Linked DNA regions of Homo sapiens: all the other regions are linked to region 1. The links are contacts of gene promoters, found by promoter capture Hi-C in blood cells and fetal thymus (Javierre and others, 2016). All regions are on one chromosome and are shown on one strand. The core of a region is centred on a gene start or on the middle of the fragment in contact, and the rest is flanking DNA. Distances in the headings are between cores, read along the strand shown. Region 1 holds the start of DUSP5 (dual specificity phosphatase 5). Region 2 overlaps XPNPEP1 (X-prolyl aminopeptidase 1). Region 3 overlaps XPNPEP1 (X-prolyl aminopeptidase 1). Region 4 overlaps XPNPEP1 (X-prolyl aminopeptidase 1). Region 5 has its middle 8.8 kb from the start of XPNPEP1. Region 6 overlaps ADD3-AS1 (ADD3 antisense RNA 1).

Region 1 (2,747 bases), core at 97-2,596:
GCCCCCGCATCACGTCTTCACCAAGACCCCACTGGCAAGGCGAGGACAGCGCCTTTGGGTGGATGCATCTGTGACCCAGAGGCAATGCTGGCTGTCCTGGTGTCTGATTTGATTGCATCTGATTTCAAAATTTGATCTCTGCTTCCTTCTGAAAACCTCATTCCCTTATGTCAGTTGTCAACAAGCCCTTGTCTAGTGCGGGCAGACTGTTTTCCATCAAGCAGTCCCAGCCAGGCTAACAATAAAATGGTTGGCAGTGAGCTTGGGGGCAGAAACCTGTTTCCATCCATGTGTCCCCGCAGCTAGCAAAGCCCTGGCACACGGCTGACCCTCAATAAATGCTTGCTGAATGGGTGAATTGTGTCTGCTTCCCCAGGAATAGGGGTGGGAGGCCTGAAGCCCCTGGGGACCGGTGGGGGCAGACAGCCTGAGATTAAACTTGATCCATAGATAATCCCCCAAATCCAGAAGCCACCTGGACAACAGTTGGCTGAACTGAGCTCCATCGTGGGATACATGCTGATGGTACTGCTGAGTTCACCAAGGGTCTCCCCGGGACCAGAAAACAGCTCCTCAAAATACAACTTATTATTCTAATCATTATTGGAGAGTGACAGAGAAAAGAGCGTCAATCCTTTGAGGGCAGAATCCATTTAGGAAGATTAAATGGCTATTCTCACCGCCGACCCCCAACCCCCGTTTTTACTTTTACAAACTTTATTATGAAAAATATCAAACATACAGAAAAGTGGAGAAAACAGTATAACGAATCCGGCCACCCATCACCCAGCCTCAGCGATGACCAACCCGCGCCTGACCTCTCCAGTCATCTATACCCCACCCCTCGAGGCAAATCTCCGACGTCCTCTCCTTACACGCGCAGACCTCGGTAGCGACGGGAATCCGTTCCGGACTCCTCTGGGGCCCTGGCCGGCTCCCTCGGCCCTGCTCAGCGCGGCGCGGGCGGGTTCTCAGCCCACGTCCGTGAAGCTGAAGGCCGGATCGTGCGGCGCCGCCCCGCCCCCCACGGCGCTTCCTCCTCGGTCCGCACCGCGAGGGTCACCGCGGCCCCGGAGCGCCTGGGACACTCGACCGGCAGCCGCGGGTGATGCGCGAGTGAGTCCCTCAGCGAAGCGCGGAAGAGAGAACGAAGAGGCGCCTTCCACTTCCTCTCGCTCTAACGCCGGCACCCGCCCCGCGCGTCCCTCGCCCCCGCTGCCCCGCCCCCTGCAGGGCGTGGCCACGGCCCGAGGGGCGGGGAAACACCCATATTTGGCCTTATATGGGCAGCCGCGTCACGGACGGCACTCATTCACATAAAACGCTGCGCGGCCGGCGGAATCCCCGGCTTCTAGGGCGGCGAGCGGCCGGGCTGGCTATCGAGCGAGCGGGGCGGGAACGCGGAGTTGCGCCGCCGCTCGGGCGCCGGGCTCCGTCGCGGCCGCAGCCCCGCGGGTCGCCCTCCCGTGCCTCGCCCGCGGACACCCTGGCCGTGGACACCCTGGCCGTGGGCACCCGCGGGGCGCGCGGCGCGGGGCCGCTGGCCGGCGGCGGCGGCGGCATGAAGGTCACGTCGCTCGACGGGCGCCAGCTGCGCAAGATGCTCCGCAAGGAGGCGGCGGCGCGCTGCGTGGTGCTCGACTGCCGGCCCTATCTGGCCTTCGCTGCCTCGAACGTGCGCGGCTCGCTCAACGTCAACCTCAACTCGGTGGTGCTGCGGCGGGCCCGGGGCGGCGCGGTGTCGGCGCGCTACGTGCTGCCCGACGAGGCGGCGCGCGCGCGGCTCCTGCAGGAGGGCGGCGGCGGCGTCGCGGCCGTGGTGGTGCTGGACCAGGGCAGCCGCCACTGGCAGAAGCTGCGAGAGGAGAGCGCCGCGCGTGTCGTCCTCACCTCGCTACTCGCTTGCCTACCCGCCGGCCCGCGGGTCTACTTCCTCAAAGGTGAGCGCTCGGGGTCCCTGCCACGCTCGCCCCTCCGGCGCCCCCGGGTCCCCTCCCTGCGCCGGGGCGCCCTCCTACACCCTGGGACCGGGAGAGTCACCACCTGCAGGAGTCTGCACCCTGTGGCTTGTTGTGCGCTTGGGAGGGCACTGCAAATGTCAGCACTCAGAGCTCCCCCTCTTCCCCACCCGCGTTCCTCGAAAGCGCCCGGCAGCGGGTCTGCCCGGTGGTCTGGGTGGAGTTGGTTATGCTGCGGGGGCTGCTGCTGTTTAGCAGTTTGGGGGCCGTCGGCTCGTGCCGGGCACGAGCCCCCTTTCCAGACGCGAGCTTCGCCGCTGTCGCTGGGGTCAGGGCTCGGGGCCTTCCTGATAGACTGATCTGGCGGGATCAGCAGGTCGCGATCCACTCTCCCTTGGTGTGGCGCCGTGGTGCCCCCCTTCCTCCCGCCTAGCCAGCTGTGGTCTTCACCGACCCCCTTGCCTTTTTGACCTGGCGAGTCCCTTCCCTTTCCATTTCATTTTATTGCTTTTTATTGTTTCCCTCCGGCCTCTTCTCCCCTCCTAGGTCTTTTCTCTAGCTCAGTTTGGAGCTCACATCCTTTCCACCCTTTTCACCTCCTCCTTCCTCCGCCCCAGGATTATCCCTGGGACCCATCCTGAGCTGAGCCTACAGCCAGCCAGCCACGAAATAGAGGTGCGCGGGGGCAGGGTGGTATGGAGATTCTGCGGCCTTTGATTTGACACCTCCCGGAGCTACCGCCACAGGCCTGCCCATTTCACCTGCCGGGAAGATAACTTTGGCTTCTGG
Region 2 (2,747 bases), core at 166-2,665, 620 kb before region 1:
CCTAATGACATTTCCCCCCATCTCCACAGGAAGATCTGTCAGTCCTAGACATATCAGTGCCCCTCTGTCTCACAAGGAAGGGAGGCTCGGCCCTGTGGGTCCATGGGTTCTTGTAGACCACGTGGTAAAAAAACCACATACTGGGATGCCAGGCTTCAGGCTCAGGGGGACAGGAAGAGAGGGTACTGATTATCTCTCCACCCAAAACAGGTTGCCTCACAACCTACTACTAAGTTTTTTTTTGGTATGGAACTGATGGAGCTCACAAGATGTATGGACTAGTACAAAACAGCTGCTGTTACCAAGAAAGAAAACTACTCAAAAATTCCAGTCATGGGCCAAGCACAGTGGCTCACACCTGTAATTCCAGCACTTTAGGAGGCTGAGGCAGGAGGATTGCTTGAGTCCAGAAATTCGAGACAAGCCTGGGCAACACATCAAGATCCTCATCTCTACAAAAAAATCTAAAAATTAGCCAGGAGTGGTAGCACATGCCTATAGTCCCAGCTACTCAGGAGGCTGAGGCAGGAGGATTGCTTGAGTCTAGGAGTTCAAAGTTGCAGTGAGTTGTGATGGCACCACTGCGCTCCAGCCTGGGCAGCAGAGCAAGACCTTGTCTCCAAAAAAAAAAAAACTTAGTCATCAAGATGCAAGGGCTATGCATACAGTTCCTGCAGCTTCAAAAAGGAAAGAGGGACACCCATCTGACTACCCTGCAGAGAATGCCAGTGCCATACTGAGCCTAAGAAGAGGCTCCCAAAAGGCAGAGGCTTGGGGATTGGGAGAAAATAAAATCTTAGAAGTCTTATTTCCCTTCATTTTACAGTCTCAACAGACAGATGAAGGTGGGCACAGAGGCCTCTGGTAAAATAATGTCTCTCCCCTGCTCAGGCTCCTGTGCAGAAGCAGCAAGGCCAGGCAGCATGCTCCTCCGCATGCCTTACGCGTAGTGAATGATGGCGCCGTTGGGTCCCGTACTGGAAATTGTTGGGAAGCTCAGGTCCACAAAGTCTGCCTGTTGCCTGTAACAGAAAGACAGAAAGCAGAGTGGCTTAAAGGTTTTTACTGTGCTAAGATTCAGGGCCCTTCCAGCCTCATTCAACTAGCAAGAAAATCAGCACGAGGCTCCTGGGTCCCCCCAAATGGATCCTTACCTGCGAAACTCCTCAGCTTTGTCAGCAGCTGAGATCTCTGTCACACCACCTTTGGGAACCTATGAGAAAATTGCTTATAAATCATCTGGTGAGATAAATTCATGTGTGCCTCTTACAAATTAGAGGAGGTACATTAAAAGCTCACTTTTTCCTCAATTGCTTCATCCCAACTGACCAATCTACAGGACACATCTTTAGCAAGGGAGAACTCCCAAAGGCTCTCACCAAAGCTATCTAAAATCCAATAGTTTCTATTCATTTAATTTTTCACTCAACTATTGTGCTTCAGTATTTTATCCTAAAACCTCCCAAAACAACATATCTAAGTTTAAAAATTCAAAAGCATCCCCTCCTAAGAAATCATCGTAAGAAAATCATTCTAGAGAAATAAAAAAGATAAATGCGGAGAGATTATTGCAGGATTACTGATAACAGCAAAAAATTAAAAACAACCCAAACATTTAAAAATAGGAGGACTGGGTTAGTAAATCAGAAGAGCCACTAGATGCAGTTTTCATTTGGATCCTTTTTTAAGGCCTCAATGTACATGGAAAATGTTCACACTATGATTCTAAGAGAATAAAATAAAACACAAAATCATATCTAAGCCAGGTGTGATGGCTCACACCTATAATCCTAGCACTTTGGGAGGCCAAGATAGGTGGATCGCTTGAGCCCAGGAGTTTCAGATCAGCCTGGGCAACATGGCAAAACCTTATCTCTACAAAAAAATCAGAAAAAATCAGGTGGGCTGTAGTCCCAACTAATCGGGAGGCTGAGGTGGGAGGATCACCTGAGCTTGGGGAGGCTGAGGCTGCAGTGAGCTGTGATCACACCACTACTCTCCAGCCTGTGCAACAGATGAGACCCCATCTCAAAATAAGAAAAAAAAAAAGAAAAAAAATTTATCTGCACACTAAGAGACATGTAAAAATAATTTATATTTTTAAAAATAATTTACGGCCAGGCACGGTGGCTCACGCCTGTAATCCCAGCACTTTGGGAGGCCGAGGCGGGCGGATCACAAGGTCAGGAGATCGAGACCATCCTGGCTAACACAGTGAAACCCCGTCTCTACTAAAAATACAAAAAATTAGCCAAGCATGGTGGCGGGCGCCTGTAGTCCCAGCTAGTCGGGAGGCTGAGGCAGGAGAATGGCGTGAACCCAGGAGACGGAGCTTGCAGTGAGCCGAGATCGCTCCACTGCACTCCAGCCTGGGCGATGGAGCAAGGCTCTGTCTCAAAAATAAAAAAAAATAATAAAAATGTAATAATAATAATTTACATAAAGTCCAGGCATGGTGGCTCATGCCTGTAATCCCAGCACTTTGGGAGGCCGAGGTGGGTGGATCACAAGGTCAGGAGTTCAAGACCAGCCTGGCCAAGATGGTGAAACCCCATCTCTACTACAACTACGAAAATTAGCCAGGCGCAGTGGCAGGCGCCTATAATCCCAGCTACTTGGGAGGCTAAGGCAGGAGAATCTCTTGAACCTGGGCAGCAGAGGTTGCAGTGAGCCGAGATCACACCACTGCACTCCAGCCTGGGTGACAGAGTGAGACTCCGTCTCAAAAAATAAAATAAAATAAAATA
Region 3 (2,747 bases), core at 158-2,657, 600 kb before region 1:
CATAGAGAACCACAATGGCAGGATAAAGCAGCTCTGGGCCACCTGCCCACTAGCCCAGGCCCAGCTGCATAGTCTGCAACAAGTCCTGGCAGCTCTCTCAGCCTCATTTCCTCATCTCTAAGACAGGTCATTTCAGATTGCTAAATGCAACAGCAAGCACGTTTTATTCCTAAAGCATAAAGAACATTCGGTCAACAGCACTAAGGAAATAGAAAGAAATGGCCACCAGCATCGTTTAGGAACTGCAGAATCCTCACTTGTTTATTAACCGAGTAATTACTGTGTGCAAGACTTTTTATTAAAAAGTAACAACGGGGGGAAGGGTGGCCCACACATCTCCTAGGACTCTTGTGAGAAACAGTAAGTTAATGTCTTTCAAAACTCACCAGAAACTTGAAAGTGCTGCACATATGCAATGGAAGAGATATTATTAATCTCTTCTTCCTAAACAGTGAGAAGACATCTAAGGGGCTGGGAAAACTAAGTTAAAAATAACTCTTGTGCTAAAAATCACTGCGCACAATGGGGAATACACAGTGAGGGCACTCTCCACCAACATGACGCCACAGGCTTGGGGCTCTTCCACCCGTGACACAGGGTGAAGATACTGGCAAAGACTGGCAGAGAATGCAGTGCAGGTCTGAGCCCGGCTGGACTCTTCCATTCAGGGACATAGTACTCTAGGGATGCCCCACCCCTTTCTGGGCAAGCTTGGGAGAGATGGAAGATCCGCAGGGTTTACCTAGACTTCTCCATCAGCAAAGGCAAGGAAAGAGTTCCTCCAAAGGGAGGTGGAATTAACAGCAAATGGACATGTTTAGTTTGGGATGGAGACAAGGTCTGGGGTAAGAATGTCCAGACATGACCTAAGTGGTCAACATTCCAGAAAGACATTGCTAAGCAAGGCTGGCCACAGCCTCACCTCCACACTGACAGGCTATGCAGAAGCCAGACAAGCACTGGGCCCAGGGCTGTCACTCTCCTTCTCCCAGGCATGAAGCTGGCAACGCCCAGGGGCGGTCTCCTTAGAACACAGCATAGGGCCTAAAATAAACCAAAGCTGTAGCATGCTAGGAAAAAGGCACAAAGAAGCACAGCTGCTGGCTTTTTCTCAAAACCACCCACTTCTCTCCATTTCTAATAGCAGCACTCAGTCCAAGCCTCCATCATCTCTACCTGGACTACCGCCCCTACAATCCACTCTGCACATACACTCAGAGTGAGCTTTTCCAAATATCTAAGATCATGTTAGCAACCTCCTTAAAACCCTCCAATGGCTTCCTATTATATTTAAGATAAAATCCAAACTCTGGCCCAGTCAAGGTACCAGCTGATCTGACTTTGCCAGTCCTCTTGCAGCTCTGCTCCCATTCACCATGCTCCAGACACACCCACCTCCTTTCTGCTCTTTGCATATCCTGAGCTCATTCCTGCCTCAAGGCCTTGGCACATGTGCTTCCTTGTGCCTATAAAAGTATTTCTGATCATGGTATGGCTAGGTCCTTCTCATCATTACATTTGAGATCAAATATCACCTCTACAGAGAGGCCTACCTGTACTACCCAGCTATAATAGCCACCTGGCCACTTTTAAGTCTCTGTATAGCACACACATACTCTAGATATTTGTCTTTTTTTTTTTTTTTTTCTTTTGGAGACAGGATCGCCTTCTGTTACCCTAGCTAGAGTGTGGTGACACAATTATGGCTCATTGTATCCTTGACCTGTCAGGTTCAAGCAATCCTCCCACCTCAATCTTCTCAATAGCTGGGACTACAGCAGGCACACACCTTTTTTTTTTTTTTTTTTGTAGAAACGGGGTTTTACCACGTTGCCAGGCTGGCCTTGAACTTCTGGGCTCAAGTGATCAGCCTGCCTCAGCCTCCCAAAGTGCTAGGATTACAGGCAAGAGCCACCATGCTGGGCAATGTTTCTCTTCTTAATGAACTTTTTATATGTTTATTGTCTTGTTCCTCAACCCCCATCTTAACCCCAAGCATATAAGTTCCATGAGATCAGGGTATCTGTCCTGTCCCTGCACTCAGCACAGGTGACTAGATCCTCAACCCACATTTGTATTATAAATGAACAAGCAGAAAGAGACATGAAGCTTTTCCCTACATCCAGTTAAAACCTCAACCATATCTACGAAGATGGACGAAGGGACCATGAGCCAAGGAATGCAGGTGGCCTCCAGAAACTGGAAAAGGCAAGGAAATGGACTCTCCCTGGAGCCTGCAGAAGTAACATAGCCCTGCTGACCCATTTTAGACTTCAGACTTCCAGAACCATAAGAGAATAAATTTGTTTTAAGTCACTGTGGTAATTTGTTATAGCAGTGATAGGAAACTAATACATTATCTAATGGGGAAAAGATCGTAAGGGATTATAAATGGGGTTTCAAATTCAAATACCTCAGGGTACAGGACAAAGGATATCTTTTCTAAAGACAGCAGCTCCTACTCAGCTCTGATTTCTGAAATGCAGGCCACATGTTGCTAACCTTCAATATTTCAGAAGAAGCCAGAAATATGGGTTCATGAGAAATTACCCAATTTTTAAATGTTGGCATCTAATTCCAACAATATAAACAATACATAGCCAAATAAAGCATCTGTAAACTACAAAAAAAAAAAAAGCTAGTCATCTCTCAAAAATCTGGTTCAAGTGCTCCCTTTTCCATGAAGCTTCCTGACCCACTTCAGCTTTCAGAGGCTCCCACATTTCTGAATTTTACAGGACCATCCA
Region 4 (2,747 bases), core at 133-2,632, 580 kb before region 1:
TTATTGTGTTTTCAAACCATATTTCTGAGCAAGTTATCATTCTTAAAAACAGTCAAGCAAAAATGAAGCTTTCTTTAGGAGCAGGACTTCAACACTGGCTGCACATTAGGACTATCCGGGAAACATCTGACTTAACTGGTCTGGAGTACAGCCTTGGCTTCAGGAGTTTTAAAATGCAAAAATATAAGAGTCTAATATACTTTCTTTCAAGATCATTTATTTCTTTATAGACTCTGCCTTCCATTCAGGTACATTCTGACGTAAGGATTTTGGTGGCACTGACTGGGTGTTTAGTGCTGATTGTAGTATCAATATTATCAGTCACTAACTTCATCAATAACGTTAACACAACCAATCATGAGCACAAAATCTTCAACTGCAAACTAAAAACCAACAAAAACAAACTGGATCTGTTCAAAAACATCCTCTGCTTCCTGGTCATCACAACCTGCCTCCTCATTCCCACATTCTGATCTTCATCACTACCACCATCACATCATCACGTTTCCCCTGGTGACTGGCATATCAGACCCCCACAGAATCATCAGCTTTATCAGTCTCACTGACACTCCCCTCCACAATGCTACCTACCCCCATCAACACTCAACACTTTCCCTCTTCCTACTTCCTCATCCTTCAGGCCGATCACATTCATGTTCTGGGTGCAATGCAGCTACTTCTTTATCATCAATATTAGACATGATGAAAGAAGTCCCAATACCATAACCAATAGTTAGGATGTGGTAAGGGGCAGTGGCAGCAACAGTGAAGGTGAAGAAGATAGCAACAGGCAATGGCTGAGGCAGTGAGGCAGCTACCACTGAAGTGAATACAGTGGGCCCTGGTGGTTGAGGCAGCTGTACCCACAAGGAAAACAGGTGATGGAAAGTGATTGAATGAGTGAGCAGCTGGAGCTAAGGAGAGAACAAAGTTGGTGCAATTATATAAGTCCTAGCCATTGAGGTGGCACTGGTTGAAAAGGCAGCCAAGATGGAGGAAGTGAAAGTTGTAGCTAATGACCCTCATAATTTGTATAAGGAGTAAATGAGTTACTATACATATGGCACTTAGAAACAGTACCTGGCACATAACAAATGTCATGTAAATGTTTAATGTTATTAGAGTTAGACACACAACTAACCATAAATGCAATGTGATAAATTGTGTAAACAGGTGTGTATACCACTTCTCCGGAAGGCAGGGATGATGTCATCTCTGTATCCATGTATCTACAATTAACATATACATATGCTCACTCAAAGATGGCTAAATCAAATTCACAACATTGGATCTATGATCTTTTCAGTCTCAATGAACAGTAATGAATCTTCAGTGACAGATAGGCTCTTGCAAGGTGCTGTATTATGACATCTGCTCATTCCACATCCTATGACTTTTCAGAAATGTTAGAAACAGCCAAGAGCTAAGCAAAGTATGCAGCAAAGTAGGAAGCCAAGAGCAACAGGCCTAGTCCACGATGAAACATTAGCCCATACACTGCCAGGTATTTTCAAACTATGCCTTACAGAGAATGACTCACTTAAAAGTCTTGCATATACAGGTCTGCTTTTAGAAATAAGTTCCCACACCTTCAGCCTTTATCACAAACAAGATTTTTCACTGATTGTACATGAAAAGCACACCATACTTACCTCACTGGTGGCCAGGCAAATTAAACATGATAATGTGTGTGAAAGCACCATGCACAGCATCTATTACACTGCAGGAGCTCAAGAAATATTTGAATCTGGATCTGAAGCACCAGCTGGAATTCCCAAGTCTCGTTATAAGAATGGAAGGGGCCAGTTTACTCCAATTTCAGCATCTTAACACGGGCACAGATGCTCTTCCAGCATCAATAGCTTTAGAGGTAGTGGTTTGTTTCTCTGTTGCACAGCTGAGGGAACGCTAAGGGCTTTACATACATTAGTGGCTAATTCTCACAACAATCCTCCAAGGGAGGTTTCACTATTCTCATTTTACACATAAAGGAACAGGAGTTAAAAGGAGTTAAGTACTTGCCCAAAGTCAGCTGGTTCATCAGGAACCGGGACTCAAGGTCTATGCAATTCCCAAGTCCATGCTCTATTACACCATATTAGCTGGGGGACATAATAGAGCCTTAAAGTGTTCTAAGACCAACAGAAGCAAAACAAGTGAGCTCCAGTTTCCAGCTGGGATCTACAACCTCAGGCAACTGAAGCTACCTAACCTCTATTTCCTCATACATTACAAAAAGAAAAAGAAGTTATCTTCCAACTCTAAGTTTAATGATTCCATCACTTTTTTCCTTTCTTTACTTTCTCTTTTTCCTCCTTCCTCTGCTACCTCCTAATATGGTCCAAAATGTGTTGGATACATCTATATTTTTTAAAGAAAAAGGATCTAAAATTGCATGCAATTATAGCACTGATCTTCCAAACAGAGATTAGACGGGCATGGTTTCTTATGTACTTCAAGAGATCAATTTTTCAGTCAGCTAAAAAAAAAAAAAACACATGGTTCTCCTTAGTAGTCGTTAGAGCAGTACTGGCTTACTGGGATAGAAATACAGTAATACACCACTTTTCAGAATTCAGGTTTCTGGCAACCCATCAGACAATTAACCAGTTCTGGGGAGAAGGGACAGCCAAGAAATATTTCCCAAAAAGACTTTCCTAAATGCACACTCAATTTATAAAGGACAATAATATATTACAAGCTTTTCTCATTTTGCAATCTTATGATCAAAATTGAAAGCTAATTTC
Region 5 (2,747 bases), core at 138-2,637, 570 kb before region 1:
TAAAAATAAAAATAAAAATCTGTGTCTTCGGTCTCTTTTGAAAAATCGGAAGGTTGGTTTGGCAATACTAGTCTTTCCTTCTATACAGTAACAAGGAACATGAACAGCGCAGGGACTGGCCCCATGAAATGGGACAGAGAGCCCTCCATTTAACCACTTACACTGTTCTACTTTACCTGCCAGACCACTATTGATGTCCAAATTTGTGACTCCTCCTCCTGGAGAATCTGACAAACATGGCCTGGATTTCAACTTCACTGAAATTGCCCTTGCAATTAAGCTAAGGTAACTACTTCTTGTCAGAATGGTTTCACCTTTCGCACCTAAACATAGAATCCCCCAAACTTAACACCAGCTAGCAAGTCCTCACTCTTCTTGTTTTGCAATTTGGATTTTGCAAGGCATGGGGCAACTCATTGGGGCTTGGCAGAGCCCCCAGAATTCTGGCAGCCCTGTGTGTACTGATGTCATGAGTGTCCCTTGCCATAATGCATCCTCATTACTAACTCAAATCTGCCAAACTCAAACAATTGGAGCTGAAAAACAGAGTAACAGGCTGCCTGAGCTGCAAAACAGTGCATAAAAATACTCAGAAAAACAATTAGTGCCTAGGACCATATCCAAGAATGAAAATCACTATTTATTATTGTTAATCATCCCTTTCCCTGATCACAATTTGCCTGCTAAAAGCAGCCCCTTCTCAAAATACAATGAGTAGTTCTAAAAGATATCTTAGTAATATAACCTAGTCATATATATTCTTTTCCTTAGTTTCTCATTAACCTATGTTTAATGTTTTATTCATCTACTCCTTCAATTTAATAACCTTTTTACCCTTACTTTTTCTTTTTTAAACAGCTTTATTGAGATGTTAGTTCTCATTACCATTCAATTTGCCTCTTTAAAGTGTCCAATTCATGTCTTTTATTATATTCAGGGTTTTACAACCATCTCCACAGGCACTTTTAGGGTTTTGTTTTTTTTGTTTGTTTGTTTGTTTTGCGACAGAGTCTCACTCTATTGCCCAGACTGGAGTGCAGTGGTGCAATCTCGGCTCACTGCAACCTCTGCCTCCCGGGTTCAAGCGATTCTCCTGCCTCAGCCTCCCAAGTAGCTGGGATTACAAGCGTCTGCCACCATGCCCGGCTAATTTTTGTATTTTTAGTAGAGACAGGTTTTCACCATGTTGGCCAGGCTAGTCTCAAACTCCTGACCTCAGGTGATCTTCCTGCCTTGGCCTCCCAAAGTGCTGGGATTACAGTCATGAGCCAGTGTGCCCAGCCAATTTTAGGACATTTTTATCACCCCAAAAAGAAATCTCATATCCTTTAGCATCACTCTTCTTTCCTCCCATCCTCCCCAGTCACAGGCAACCACTAATGGGCTTTCTATCTCTATAGAGTTGCCTCTTCCAAGCATTTCAGATAAATGAAATCCTACAACATATCATGCTCTGTGACTGGCCTCTTTCACTTATCATAGTGTTCTCAAGATTCATCTGTAATGTAGCATTCATCAATATTTCATTCCTTTTTTGCAGAATAATATTCCACTGTATGAATGTACCACATTTTACTTATCCATTCAAATGGACTTTTAGGTTGTTTCTACTTCTTGGCTGTTATGAATAATGCTGCGAGAACATTTGTGCATAAGTTTTTTTGTAGGTAGATTTCATTTTTCTTGGATAAATACCTAGGATGGAATTTCTGAGTCATAGGGTAACTCTATGCCTAACATTTTGAATAACTGATGAACTGGTTTTTTTTAAAGTGGCTGCACCTTTCCCACCAGCAATGCCTATTCTTATTACTCTTTATTAATATATTTGTTTTCTTTTTTCCATCAACTGTCCCCAGATTTCAAATGAAATTCCTAATTGCTTTTGCCCTTGGGGAAGTGGAGTGGCATTTAATTTTAGAGTGAACCCTTCTTTAGCCTCTCCTGTTAAGGACTCCGTTGGAGAAATCACACTTCAAGGGTCCCTTCACTCTTGTAAATCAGAATTGTTACCACAGTGCTACTTAAGCCAAAGTCTCTAAGTATCTAGCCTAGGTATTTTAGATACAAACAAAATAAAGTAATTCAATCATTTAAAGGCATAGACGTGGAAATTTGGAACTAGAAGGGGCCCTAAGGATTCCTTCATCAATGCCTTCATTTTATACATAAAGATGCTCTAACCAAACCGAGAGTCATGTGAGCAAGGCCACACAGCTGCTTATTAGAGAATAAGACTGAAACCCAGGTCTTCTGATTCCCCTCTATTCCTCTGATCAGTTCACCCTATAGTCTCTCAGCCAGCTGTGCTTAGCAAACACTGGGGCAATTATAATTCCAAGAGCAAGGGCTGCATTCATACATAGAACAGAGTGGAGAATTAGGTGATTCCGGGTACCATGGGCTGATTCTAGCCCATAGATGTATTTAGCTTACCCTACAAGGTATTTTAAGATTTTTTAGAAAATAGTTGCCAACTCATAAAAATGAAGAAATTTCGGCCAGGCGCGGTGGCTCGAGCTTGTAACCCCAGCACTTTGGGAGGCCGAGGGGGGTGGATCACGAGGTCAGGAGATCGAGACCATCCTGGCTAACACGGTGAAACCCCGTCTCTACTAAAAATACAAAAAATTAACCGGGCGTGGTGGCGGGCGCCTGTAGTCCCAGCTACTCGGGAGGCTGAGGTGGGAGAATGGCGTGAACCCGGGAAGTGGAGATTGCAGTGAGCAGAGATCAAGCCACTGCAC
Region 6 (2,747 bases), core at 86-2,585, 550 kb before region 1:
TATGGCTTTTTGTATTTCCTAAAGCATTCCTGCCCAACCCACAGCAACATTTGCACTTAGACAACCCTAAGCAGTCAACAGCCCTTATAATACCACTTCACAGATGAAGAAACTGAACCTGAGAATGGTGAAGTGACTTGCTCAGCCACAGAGCATGGGAAACTCAAGTTTGCTTCCTAACCAGCTCCCTTTCTTCCTCCTGCAAGGGCAAAATGAGATCATAAATAGGAAAGCACTCTGAAAAGAAGGAATCTCTATTGATGCCAGATGTATTATTATAAAGCCAAACCTAAGTATAGGGTGACCTTGTTATCACCCCCAGAGGTGGAGATGCTTACAGATCTGGCCGGTTTAATCTCTGGATACCCTGGGGAGAGTATCTGGGGCTTTCTCCAGTAGGGTTAAGTTTTGCATGTTCCCGACATCACTTTCTCCAGAGGGGACCCATCAGAAAGAAAAGAGTGACATCCCCTCATTCCTTAAAAACATCACCCCCTCAATTTTGCACAACTCAGGCCAACCCAAACGTCAGAGGGTAATAGTGTTGATGTCAGGATTCAAAATTTATGGACAGTGTGGACATATGCGATGGTTTGTTTGGGGAAATGGATTTGTCATGTGCAGGATATATGGCACCAGATAAAACATCCTGACAATATTACACGATTGGGGAGGAGGGGGTGCACAAGGATATTATTTTGAAAATACACTGTTATGACATTTTAAAAATTCCAGAGTGAATGCTGAGAAGATCCAGAGGTTAATGTGATGCTGGAACATGCAGCTGTGCAGGACCATAAAGAGTCATCCATTTTGTATCACAAAGTACATTTTTCATCTTCTTCTCCCTCAAATCATGGAATTGGGGGCAGGGATATTGTAAGCAAATTTGATTTAAGTACATTTAAAGGAGACTAATACAAAAGTAATAATAAAGATTCATCTTTTTGAAATTTTGAAAATAATCCAAGCTGGGCGTGGTGGCTCACGCCTGTAATCCCAGTATTTTGGGAGGCTGAGGCGGGCGGATCACGAGGTCAGGAGATCAAGACCATCCTGGCTAACACGGTGAAACCCCGTCTCTATTAAAAATACAAAAAAAAAAAAAAAATTAGCCAGGCATGGTGGTGAGCGCCTGTAGTCCCAGCTACTCAGGAGGGTGAAGCAGGATAATGGCGTGAACCTGGGAGGAAGAGCTTGCGGTGAGCCATGACTGCGCCACTGCACTCCAGCCTGGATGACAGAGCGAGACTCCATCTCAAAAAAAAAAAGAAAAGAAAAGAAAAGAAAAGAATCCAAATAATCTAAAAATAAAAATTTGTCCAAAATTGCAAGATTTTTGACCTGCAATCCCAGCAAACTATAAACTTTGCTTCTTCTCTTGCCAGCTGGCCAACATAAATGGCTGCCATCCTTTGCCAAGAGGACTCTTATATCATGAGATTTGTTTGTTTGTTTGTTTTCTACTCATCTGAGGTCTCATAAAGTGCAACCCTAACAAAATGCAGCTTCCTTATACTTAGATGCAGTAAAGTTTTTCAGAGGGCCTGTTATATATAGGCTTTCACATGTCTGCTATTTTAAACCTCACAATAGCTCTAACAGGTAGATAACGCCATCCTCATTTCACAGAGGAGGAAACGGAGGCTTAAAGGATTTGAGTAGCTTGCCCATGGTTATGTAGTGAGGAAGTTGCAGAGCCAGAACTCACATTCAGGGCTTCTATCTCCTCTCCACCACAACCACTCAAGCCAAAAGAGATGAATTTGACTGCATTTGTGCATATAGTCATTGTTCTCCAGGCATGTGTCAGACACTGTGCTAGGCACTAGGTCAGTGAGGATGGGAAGATTCCAGAACCAAGATTTCATACGGGCAGGCAGTGCTATAAGGCCTAGGGTCAGAAGTTCCAGGTCAGTTCCAGCAGGTATCAGTATCTGGAGATATGCATGGCAGTGAGAGATGGACAGGGGTGGGGTGGGTCCCCTTCGCCTGGATGGTGTGTTGAACAGCACAAACAAAGCTAAGAGTGCTTCCCTTCTAGGTTAGGTTACCTTCACACCAGAAATTATGGAGATTCATTGTAATGATAGAAATAGAAATAAGAAAGCTCAGCCAAGTTGGTAGGCCTCTCGTGTGAACCAAGCTAAACCACCAGACCGCACAGAAAGAAAAAAATCCACGGCCCAGCCTAGGGAGTTTGGGAGTCTTAGGGAGTTTTGCTCTTGGTTTGGGATCTGGAAGCTGGTAGTCAAATCAGCAGGTTATCTCATGGACTTTCAGGTCTGGTGCTGACTGGTCCCTGGCATCCTACCATTACCATGCCTCCGCTGTTTCCTTTCTCTCTCCTTCTACTTCAGCGGCTCCTGTTGCAACTGACGAAGTCCTGATTCCATCCTTCTTCCCTCCCCATAGAGCAGCTTGTTCAGGACTTCTACGACTTCATGAATTGTATTTACTGTTTTTTTCTCTCTATGTATCTTTTGGCTTTTTTCTTCCTACCAACTGATTCTCTCACTCTCTCTTACTGATTATTCTCTTACTCTCTGACTACTGAGGGAGAACCTCTGATTTGGTTCACTTAAACACTATTTCCCTCTAGTGCAAAGGTCTTGCACCAGGCTACTTTTTAGACTATGGGCCAACCTATGCACTAGCTGACCTTGGGTCAAGTGCTCACTCCTGATCCAATTAGCTATGACGTTGGGGATGGGGTAGGGGTGGGGTCCTATGGGACACAGCATGAC

What was found. Contacts are between HindIII fragments. The CHiCAGO score rates a contact against its expected background, and 5 or more counts as called.
Region 2: a fragment that was not itself captured here is called in contact with the fragment with the promoter of DUSP5 in region 1 in 4 of 17 cell types (naive CD8 T cells, total CD4 T cells, non-activated CD4 T cells and 1 more); the score reaches 9.3 in naive CD8 T cells.
Region 3: a contact is called between a fragment that was not itself captured here and the fragment with the promoter of DUSP5 in region 1, in 3 of 17 cell types (activated CD4 T cells, naive CD8 T cells and M2 macrophages). The highest score is 8.4, in activated CD4 T cells.
Region 4: a fragment that was not itself captured here is called in contact with the fragment with the promoter of DUSP5 in region 1 in 14 of 17 cell types (monocytes, neutrophils, naive B cells and 11 more); the score reaches 13.8 in monocytes.
Region 5: a fragment that was not itself captured here is called in contact with the fragment with the promoter of DUSP5 in region 1 in 8 of 17 cell types (neutrophils, monocytes, activated CD4 T cells and 5 more); the score reaches 13.5 in neutrophils.
Region 6: a fragment that was not itself captured here is called in contact with the fragment with the promoter of DUSP5 in region 1 in 2 of 17 cell types (neutrophils and monocytes); the score reaches 5.4 in neutrophils.

Annotation. Positions count from the first base shown.
Region 1 is chr10:110,496,561-110,499,307 of GRCh38, forward strand. It overlaps DUSP5 (dual specificity phosphatase 5), which reads left to right and starts at 1,347. Exons shown (of 4, transcript NM_004419.4): 1 at 1,347-1,940. The coding sequence starts at 1,562. RefSeq lists an enhancer at 1-392 and silencers at 874-1,403, 1,414-1,553, 1,624-1,683, 1,804-2,073. The HindIII fragment of the contact is 7,811 bases long and covers 1-2,747 here.
Region 2 is chr10:109,876,846-109,879,592 of GRCh38, forward strand. It overlaps XPNPEP1 (X-prolyl aminopeptidase 1), which reads right to left. Exons shown (of 21, transcript NM_020383.4): 13 at 1,155-1,213; 14 at 945-1,022. Among named protein-coding and RNA genes, the nearest start is that of XPNPEP1, 45 kb to the right of the region's middle. The HindIII fragment of the contact is 6,015 bases long and covers 1-2,747 here.
Region 3 is chr10:109,894,644-109,897,390 of GRCh38, forward strand. The region is part of intron 3 of XPNPEP1 (X-prolyl aminopeptidase 1); the gene reads right to left. Among named protein-coding and RNA genes, the nearest start is that of XPNPEP1, 27 kb to the right of the region's middle. The HindIII fragment of the contact is 1,399 bases long and covers 709-2,107 here.
Region 4 is chr10:109,911,605-109,914,351 of GRCh38, forward strand. The region is part of intron 2 of XPNPEP1 (X-prolyl aminopeptidase 1); the gene reads right to left. Among named protein-coding and RNA genes, the nearest start is that of XPNPEP1, 11 kb to the right of the region's middle. RefSeq lists enhancers at 1,236-1,285, 1,632-2,287. The HindIII fragment of the contact is 2,633 bases long and covers 67-2,699 here.
Region 5 is chr10:109,930,904-109,933,650 of GRCh38, forward strand. No RefSeq gene overlaps it. Among named protein-coding and RNA genes, the nearest start is that of XPNPEP1, 8.8 kb to the left of the region's middle. The HindIII fragment of the contact is 4,489 bases long and covers 1-2,747 here.
Region 6 is chr10:109,947,078-109,949,824 of GRCh38, forward strand. It overlaps ADD3-AS1 (ADD3 antisense RNA 1), which reads right to left. Exons shown (of 5, transcript NR_038943.1): 4 at 119-199. Among named protein-coding and RNA genes, the nearest start is that of XPNPEP1, 25 kb to the left of the region's middle. The HindIII fragment of the contact is 3,875 bases long and covers 1-2,747 here.